2 separate regions of the Homo sapiens genome follow, and region 1 is linked to region 2. Evidence: promoter capture Hi-C in human tissues and cell types (Jung and others, 2019). All regions are on one chromosome and are shown on one strand. The core of a region is centred on a gene start or on the middle of the fragment in contact, and the rest is flanking DNA. Distances in the headings are between cores, read along the strand shown. Region 1 overlaps NIPAL3 (NIPA like domain containing 3). Region 2 holds the start of IFNLR1 (interferon lambda receptor 1).

The links. Contacts are between HindIII fragments. The study calls those that stand out against the background at their distance.
Region 1: a fragment that was not itself captured here is called in contact with the fragment with the promoter of IFNLR1 in region 2 in 1 of the 25 tissues and cell types used here (IMR-90 fibroblasts).

The regions. Positions count from the first base shown.
Region 1 is chr1:24,456,728-24,461,166 of GRCh38, forward strand. It overlaps NIPAL3 (NIPA like domain containing 3), which reads left to right. Exons shown (of 12, transcript NM_020448.5): 9 at 2,161-2,249; 10 at 3,754-3,817. Among named protein-coding and RNA genes, the nearest start is that of NIPAL3, 43 kb to the left of the region's middle. RefSeq lists an enhancer at 882-1,383. The HindIII fragment of the contact is 5,272 bases long and covers 1-4,439 here.
Region 2 is chr1:24,185,769-24,189,696 of GRCh38, forward strand. IFNLR1 (interferon lambda receptor 1) reads right to left here and starts at 1,521. Exons shown (of 7, transcript NM_170743.4): 1 at 1,423-1,521. The coding sequence starts at 1,480. RefSeq lists a silencer at 1,294-1,783. The HindIII fragment of the contact is 7,685 bases long and covers 1-3,928 here.

The sequences.
Region 1 (4,439 bases), core at 1,137-3,636, 270 kb after region 2:
CACTCCCTCAGAATGTGATAATTTTTGTTTGTTTGCTTGTTTGTTTGTTTTTTGAGATAGAGTCTCACTCTGTTGCCTAGGCTGGAGTGCAGTAGAGCCATCTCGGCTCACTGTAACCTCTGCCTCTGGGGTTCAAGCGATTCTCCTGCCTCAGCCTCCCAAGTAGCTGGGACTACAGGTGTATGCCACCACACCCGGCTAATTTTTGTATTTTTAGTAGAGACGAGATTTCACTTTGTGGGCCAGGCTGGTCTCAAACTCCTAACCTCAAGTGATCCACCCACCTTGGCCTCCAAAGTACTGGGATTACAGGCATGAGCCACAACACCTGGCCAGAATGTGAGAAATTTGTGGTTGGAGGCAGCCTTACTTCCCATCTTCTCCGGGGCAGATGATCGTCTCAGGGGCCTCGGAAGCATGGCCATCCCTAGGAGGCACCTGCTTGTCTGCTGGGTTGGAAAGAAAAGTTGTCATTTCTTGACTTCAGTATATCACCTCCAAATCTTCCTGAGTGGAAGGCAAAGTGCCCCCTCCTCTTTCTAAGCATGAAGTTAAATAAAAGGCAGCAGCCTGAGGGCAGGGCCTGTGTCTTGTTTGCGTTTGAGTCCTGGAGCCCAACAGAGGGCCTGGGAGGAGAGGCTCTAGGAATCTTGTAGGTGACAAAACCTGTGTAGGTACACAGGACTCAGCAGCGCACAAGGCTGATTCAACCTGGGAAGCTCAGGCTCAGACTGAAGGTCCACCAGCTACATGGCCTCCAGGCACCATAGGAGCAGCTGCTGCTGGCCCGGTGTGAGCCCAGCTCTTTTCTCAGTGCTTTATGGAACCAGCTCATTTGGTCCTTACAACACTCCTTTGATGTACAGGATATTATCCCCATTTTGCATACGAGGAACTGATGCGGAGAGAGTAAGAGGCTAGAAAGTGGCGGAGCTGAGATCTGAACCCAGGTGTCTGGCTCCCCAGCCCATGCCCTCACTGCTCTGCTCTTCTGTCGCCTACTCAGCTTCTCCAAGACAGATTCTTCACCTGCTAATGAGAACAACAGTCCCTACCTAAGAGAATCACATGAAGCTCTTATGAGAATGTCTCTAGGGAAATGCCCGGTAAACATGAGCTGCTTCTATGATTATTGGCCTTGCTATTGTTATTTTGGTTATTATTTTTGGTCCCACTACAACAATTCCAGTCATCACCTGGAAGCCCCTGCCAGTCAAAGGCCCTGTGCTGAGCACTCCAGGTGTCACAAACATGGCTCAGATGCCACCGCCCACCTCCTAAGGAGCTACTCATTCCCTAGCCAGTGCAGCCCACTGAGGGTGCTCAGCACACAGAGATGATGAGGGTAGTCACTCACTGCCCTCAGGCATTCACGGCCCTGGCTGGGGGACAGCCAGTGAAGAAACTAGTACAGCCAAGCTGCATGCAGTGGCTCACACCTGTAATCCCAGCTACTCAGGAGGCTGAGGCAGGAGCATTTGAGCCCCGTAGTTAGAGGCTGTGGTGAGCTGTCATTTTGCCACTGCACTCCAGCCTAGGCCACAAAGCGAAGTAAAAAAATAAAAGCAATTGAGTGGTGAGCATGGTGTAAGCAACTATGCAGAGAAAGGGCAAAGAATATCTTCCAAAACAAGGGTATTGTTTATCATAGATGGAGTGATTAGGAAGGACTCTAATTTTCTCTTTTTCCTGTATTTATTTCAGTGATCACATTATTTTCAAATTAAAAAGAAATTTTGTTTAAAAGAATAATTATGACACTAGGCAGAACGTGATTAGTGCTGTAAGAGTTTCTGGGGGCAGGGGTATAAGAGATGCAGGAATGGCTCTTTTTAGTGGGGTGGGGATACGGGGGGTGAGGAGAAGGGCATTTCAGGTGACAGGAGCCGTGCAGCCAAAGGTGTGAGACCATGATGGCATGGTTCAATTGGGAAATGGGGATGGGCCTTAGCTGTGTGTCTAGGGGAAGAGTGGGAATCAAGTATGGGCCCCAGACTAGGGATACACAATGTCCTGTAACATGAGGGTGGCATTTTTAGAAACCCAAGGAACATTCCTAAATGTATCATCTTCATATTTCAAACCAAACTCTACTGTTGTCAGCTCTTAGCCTTTCCAACGTCTCCACAGCCCACTGACTGGAGTGCTTTTGTGTTGAAGGTTTTTGAGTCAAGCCTCACAGATGTACGACTCCTCTTTGATTGCCAGTGTGGGCTACATTCTGTCCACAACCATTGCTATCACAGCAGGTAAGGGTGACCCATTGCTAGATTTCTGTCTTCTACTTTAGCAGCAGGGTATTATCCCAGGGCAGAGGGAGGCTGATTCTGCTGACTTGTTCTCCCCGTAGAGTGATTTATGGGTTCATGGAGAATGTGCAGGATTTCCAGACAGAGAGACCCGGGTTTGTATCCCAGCACAGACGCACATCAGCTCTGCAAACATCACTTAACCTCTCTGAGCCTCAGCTCCACATTCATAAAATGGGAGTGATAACACTTAGCTCCTAGAATTGTAATGGGTATGATCCAAATGTGCCCTATGCCATACTGTGTGTACTTTAACAAGTTTTGCTATCTTCTAGCTCCACAACCCCCACTGGCTAAGTGACCACAAATCTCTTCTGTATAATTTTAGAGATTATGAATATGCATAGCACTGCAACATCATCAATGCTCAATAAGTGATCATTAGCATTACAGCCCCCTTTTCCTCTATTTCACCTCTAATTTTTTTTTGCATTTTCTTTCTGTAGTGGCCTCAGAGGCTGCAATCATATAAAGCTGTTTGTTAATTTGTTTAAATGGCATAATAGGTGACTAAAATCTTCAGAGTAAAAAATCCAATAAGAACTAAGTGCTTTCCTTTGGTGAAAGCCTGGCTGTAAAGCCCTATGCTCTGCCAACACTTAAGACAAGTGGTGCCGCAGTTCCTGTCTACACAGGAGGAACACACGAGGCGCACAGCTTCCAGGGCCCATGCTGTGAGCAGCACCAGGGGCCATGAGGCATTGACCCAGAGCAGCCAGAAGCCATAAGCTAAGTCAGGGTCAAGAAGCTTGGTCAAGAAGCGTGAAGTCCAGTCAAGGTTGAAAGGAATCACAAACACCATGGTTGAGTGAGAACAGAAGTCAAGGCAGGGAATCAGGAGCTCAGGAATACAGCTGGAGGCCTGTGTGGGTGAGATGATTCTGGACAAAGGCTGGCTCAGGGCAGGCGCAGTAGGCCCACCCCACTCCCATACCACAGGAGTAGACCCACAGACTTGGGATCTACTGGCCACATGAGGTTAGAAAGCTCTAACAGCATAAGCACAAAGCCTTGTTTATCTATCTTAAGAAAGATGGAGGGGAGATGACTGCAGGCACAAACTGGTAAATAGGGTCTGTGGTTTGGTTAGTAAGTGTTCATTGTCGTTTTCCTGCTTTGATTATGCACTGTGGTTATGGAAGATATGACTGGGGAAAGCTGGAGGAAGGGTGCATGGGAACTCTACACCATTTTTGTGAGTCTAATATTATCCCCCAATAAAAGTTAAAAAACAACATGGAGATCAGAGGGGTCTAAGGTGGAAAAAAGTTGACAACCTGATCCCCTAAATGGCTTTTATTCCTTTCTTCTTGTAAGGCACAGTCATAAGTTTTGATCATTTTAGTTTCCTAAATGGAAGAGAGCTTAGCCAAATCCTAGACAGACTGGCAGATGGGTGATTTGAAAACAGCTCAGCGGTATTTTCTATGATTTGCTGCTGCAGGTGCAATATTTTACCTGGACTTCATCGGGGAGGACGTGCTGCACATCTGCATGTTTGCACTGGGGTGAGTTCTGTCCTGCTTGCCAGCCCCAAAACATTGTGTGTAGAATTCCAAGCAGGTTGCCCCTCTCTCTCCCTTATTGCTACAGCCGCCCCATCCTTTAGAGTCAGAGGAGCTGTGGGGTTTTGGAGCTTTGTCCCCAGAGGTGAGCGTTTTATTCCTCTAAGGGCTTTATCTTCCCCTTCTCTTTTGGACTCTAATCTCTTTGGCATTTCTCAAATATCACATTTTGACACATGAAAAGTCTCTCAACCTCACCTCGGATCTAAGAAATGCATATTGAAGCTACATGAGATACCATCATTTTGCAAAAACTAACAGGATTAATAGTATTCCACATTGGCAAGAAGATGAGGAGGCCCGCCTACTACCACACTGTTAGCATACTTGAATGTGGGAGGAAAATTTAACAACAGCAACAAAAAATCCAAACAAGCATACTTTTTGATACAGTATTCCATTCTAATCATTTATCTTGGAAAAATGCTTCAACAGGGATGCAAATACACATGTATGAGGCTATTTATTAATTTTTAAATTAGTTGTATAAGCAAACAATTGAAAACAATAGAAATGCTCAGCAGTAGAATACAAGTGTTAAAAAATTATGCCATATCCAGATAAT
Region 2 (3,928 bases), core at 271-2,770:
AAACAGCAGTTAGAGCAACTTTCCTCTATGAAGCCTTCAAAGGATGCCAGGCACTAGTTTGGCTCTTTACATGTAAAACCTCAATCACCCTTGGGACAGACCACCCTATGGGGTAGGTGTCATTCATTCTGCTTCCATGGAAAGGGCGCTAGGCTCAGAGACAGATGCTAACTAACTTGCCTGAGGCTACACAGTCAGTTTGTGTGGGAGCCAGTATTTGAACTTAGATCTGGCTGTACTTACTCCTAAATCATCACACCATAGTTAGTGTTGTGTATATTAAATACTTATCAGGTGAAAGTACAAGAAGGTCTGGGTTTGACAGTGAAAGGGGAACAGAAGACCCCACCCTCCCTCCACACACAGGTACACGGTCCCTCATCAGCCACAGAGAACGCTGCTGTGGGCACTGGGGGCTGGAGCATCCCTGGCTGGCCTAGTGACCCAGTGGATGGACAGCCTGTCCCACGTGCCTACCCTGGAGGCAAAAGCTAGCCAGGCTTGCTTTAGCCCCTCTTCTCTCTTCTGTGTGCCTCACCTCTGCCATCCTTCTTGAGGAATTCCCTGAATTGCTCTGAGCCTCAGTTTTCCCATCGGAAAAGTAAAAATAATATCTACCTCCGAGGATGGCTGGGTCGTGAGGCTTCCAGAATAATGCGGTGCCTGGCACAAAGAAGTTGCTGAATAAATATAGGCTTTTATGATGATTGGATTATGCCCAGGGACCTTTACAGCTCTTTAAACTGTGAGTCCAAGACTAGGAAAATATCCTGGGGGCGATTTCTGGACCTTCTCTTCCCTGCTTCGGTTGGAGTCGTGGGCGGTGAGGTTTGGTGGTTGGGTCCTACGGCGAGGAATTTTGTACCTGACACCTTACTCATCAGTAGAGGTGGGAAAACAACAACAACAACAACAACAACAAAACAACAACAAAACAACAACCACCACCAAAAGAAAGCCGTCTTGTTAGAAAGCAGGGCACAGGCGACCAGAGCTCCGTCCCACCAGAGGCCTGGCAGGAACGGGAAGGGACATCAATCGGTCCCACTTTCCCTGCTGTCCACACTTTAGGGTCAAGTGTGGTTTTCACGCAGGGATCAGTGCTTTCTTTAGGAAACATTAAAAAGCACTTTATTAAAAAATATGCAGTATCAAACTGCCGCTGTCTTTTTTCTCCAGTTCTCCTGAAGCTGGAAGCATTAGGAAACTGGATTCGTTTCCTGCGGGAGAGGAATATCAAAGACCCGGTTCTGTTCAGTCCTGGGAAGAAGCAAACTGGGGGCGCGTAGGCAGGGCCGATTCGCACCCGGCTCGGGTGGCTGCGGACCCCGTGCCTGTCCCAGGAGCTCCGGGTCCGAGGGTAGGCGCGGCCCGGCCCGGGGAGCCCTCTTCCCCCTCCCTCCCGCGGCCCCGCGCCCTTACCTGGAGCGGCCTGCAGCAGGCACAGGAGCAGGGGGCCCCAGCGCTCGGGCCCCGCCATGGCCTTCCTGCCGCGGCGTCCCCGCCCGGGCCCAGGTCCCCGCCTCCCGCCTCCCGCCTCCCGTCTCCTAGCCCACCGCGGGCAGGTGACGCAGTCGGCAGCCAATGGCCCGCAGAGCCGCGGGCCCGTCCCTGCCGCCTAGGATTCACTGAGAAGGTCCCTGGGGACAGCCCCGCCGCGGGGGGAGGGGGGGGGGGGAGCGCGCCGGTCCCCGCGCTCGAAACTCGCCCGTACCTCTGCTTCATCTGCACTTAGTTTTGTTTTACTCAATTCCCGGAAAAAAAAATCAGTAAATCCGTGCACGGGGGAAGGGCAGGGGAGGGGAAGAAACCGGCTGATGATCAATAACCCACGGCCAGTCCAGTGCTCCAGGACGGGCCATTTTGGCAGGATTAGGGAGAGTTCAAGGCCGGTTTGGCTACGCGGCCTCAATGCCATTGGCGGGATCCGAGCGCGTTTCTGAGCCGGATGCTGAGCTCCGCGCCTTACACACGCGATTCCCTTTAATGCCCCCGGGGATCCCGGCGGATCCGTGCTGCCCTTCTCCACGTACTTCTCTCCCGGGGAGCGGCAGGCCCCAGAGCTTCAGGTGCTTGTTCTGGGGAAAGCTGTCTTTCTGACCCCGAAGGCTGTGGTGTTCACCTGGACAGCAGTAGCTTCCCAGTAAGGCACACGCCACGACGCGCAATATTATGCGGCCCTTTAGGAGGACGTTGCCGAATGGTGTGTATCGACACCGAGGTGTTTGCAACACACTGAGAAACAGAAAAGCGAGTGCTAAAACATAGGCCCATTAAAAAAGTGTGTGTGTAGCCGGGCGCGGTGGCTCACGCCTGTAATCCCAGCACTTTGGGAGGGTGAGGCGGGTGGATCGCCTGAGGTCAGGAGTTGGAGACAAGCCTGGCCAACATGGTGAAACCCCGTCTCTACTAAAAATACAGAAAATCAGCCGGGCGTGGTGGCATTCACCTGTAATCCCAGCTATCAGGGAGGCTGAGGCAGGAGAATCGCTTGAACCCAGGAGGCGGAGGTTGCAGTGAGCCGAGATCGCGCCACTGCACTCCAGCCTGGGCGACAGAGTGAAACTCAGTTTCAAAAAAAAAAAAAAAAGTGTGTGTGTGTGTGTGTGTGTGTGTGTGTGAGTCTGTCTGTATGCATAGAAAGATATTTGGAATAATAATTACCAAAATATTAATGGTTGTTGTCTTTGGGTGATGAGGATTTTCTTTTTCAACTTTCTTCTTTTCTGATCATATTTCGTTTCCAATTTTTTGATAATTATTTGAAACTGGGATCAGCTTTGGTCCCATCAGTTTTTGGAAGAGAAAATGATTTTCACAGAGCTTGGTGGGTCCAAAAGTTGCTCTGAGTTTAACCGCGGGGGAAATTTCTTTTGGAAATTTCAGGATGCTTCTGGGACTAGCATCAAGGCTTCTGCTTAATCAGGATTTTTTTTCTTTTTTTTTTTTTAGACAAAAGCTCTGTCGCCCAGGCTGGAATGCAATAGTGTGATCTTGGCTCACTGCAACCCCGCCTCCTGGGTTCAAGCTATTTTCTCACTTCAGCCTCCCAAGTAGTTGGGATTACAGGCACCTGCCATCATGCTCAGCTAATTTTTGTAGAGATGGGGTTTCACCATGTTGGGCAGGCTGGTCTTGAACTCCTGACCTCAGGTGACCTCAGCCTCCCAAAGTGCTGGGATTACAGGCATGAGCCACTGTGCCTGGCCTTAATTAGGATCTCTTAACAAAGCCCTGCTCACAGAGGACGCAATTCCACCTCAAAGGCGCAGGGTGGAGGAGGATGGAAGAGCAGCAGGCACGGTCAGTGTTGGTATCTTGGGATCTCTGAAATGTTGACTGTTGACTTTCTTTTCTCCTTCCTTCCTTCCTTTCTCTCTCTTTCTTTCTTTCTTTCTTTCTTTCTTTCTTTCTTTCTTTCTTTCTTTCCTTCCTTCCTTCCTTCCTTCCTTCCTTCCTTCCTTCTTTTTTCTCTCTCTTTCCTTCTTTCTTGCTTTCTTATTTTCTTGCTTTCTTTTTTTTTGACAAGAGTCTCACTCTGTCACCCAGGCTGGAGTGCAGTAGCGTGATCATGGTTCACTGCAACCTCTACCTACTGGTTCAAGCGATTCTCATGCCGCAGCCTGCCAAGTAGCTGGGACTACAGGCGTAAGCCACCATGCCCAGCTAATTTGTGTATTTTTAGTAAAGACGGGGTTTCGCCATGTTGGCCAGGCTAATCTCGAACTCCTGGCCTCAAGTGATCTGCCCACCTCGGCCTTCCAAAGTGCTGGGATTATAGGCATGAGCCATGCACCCGGCCCTGAAATGTTGACTTTCATTTCCACCCAGCAACTGCAACTCTTTTAGACCCGGAATCCCACTGTGCTTGGAGCGGTTCAACAGCAGGTACAGAAATATCTTCATTTGCCACCTGCTCCACCCATGG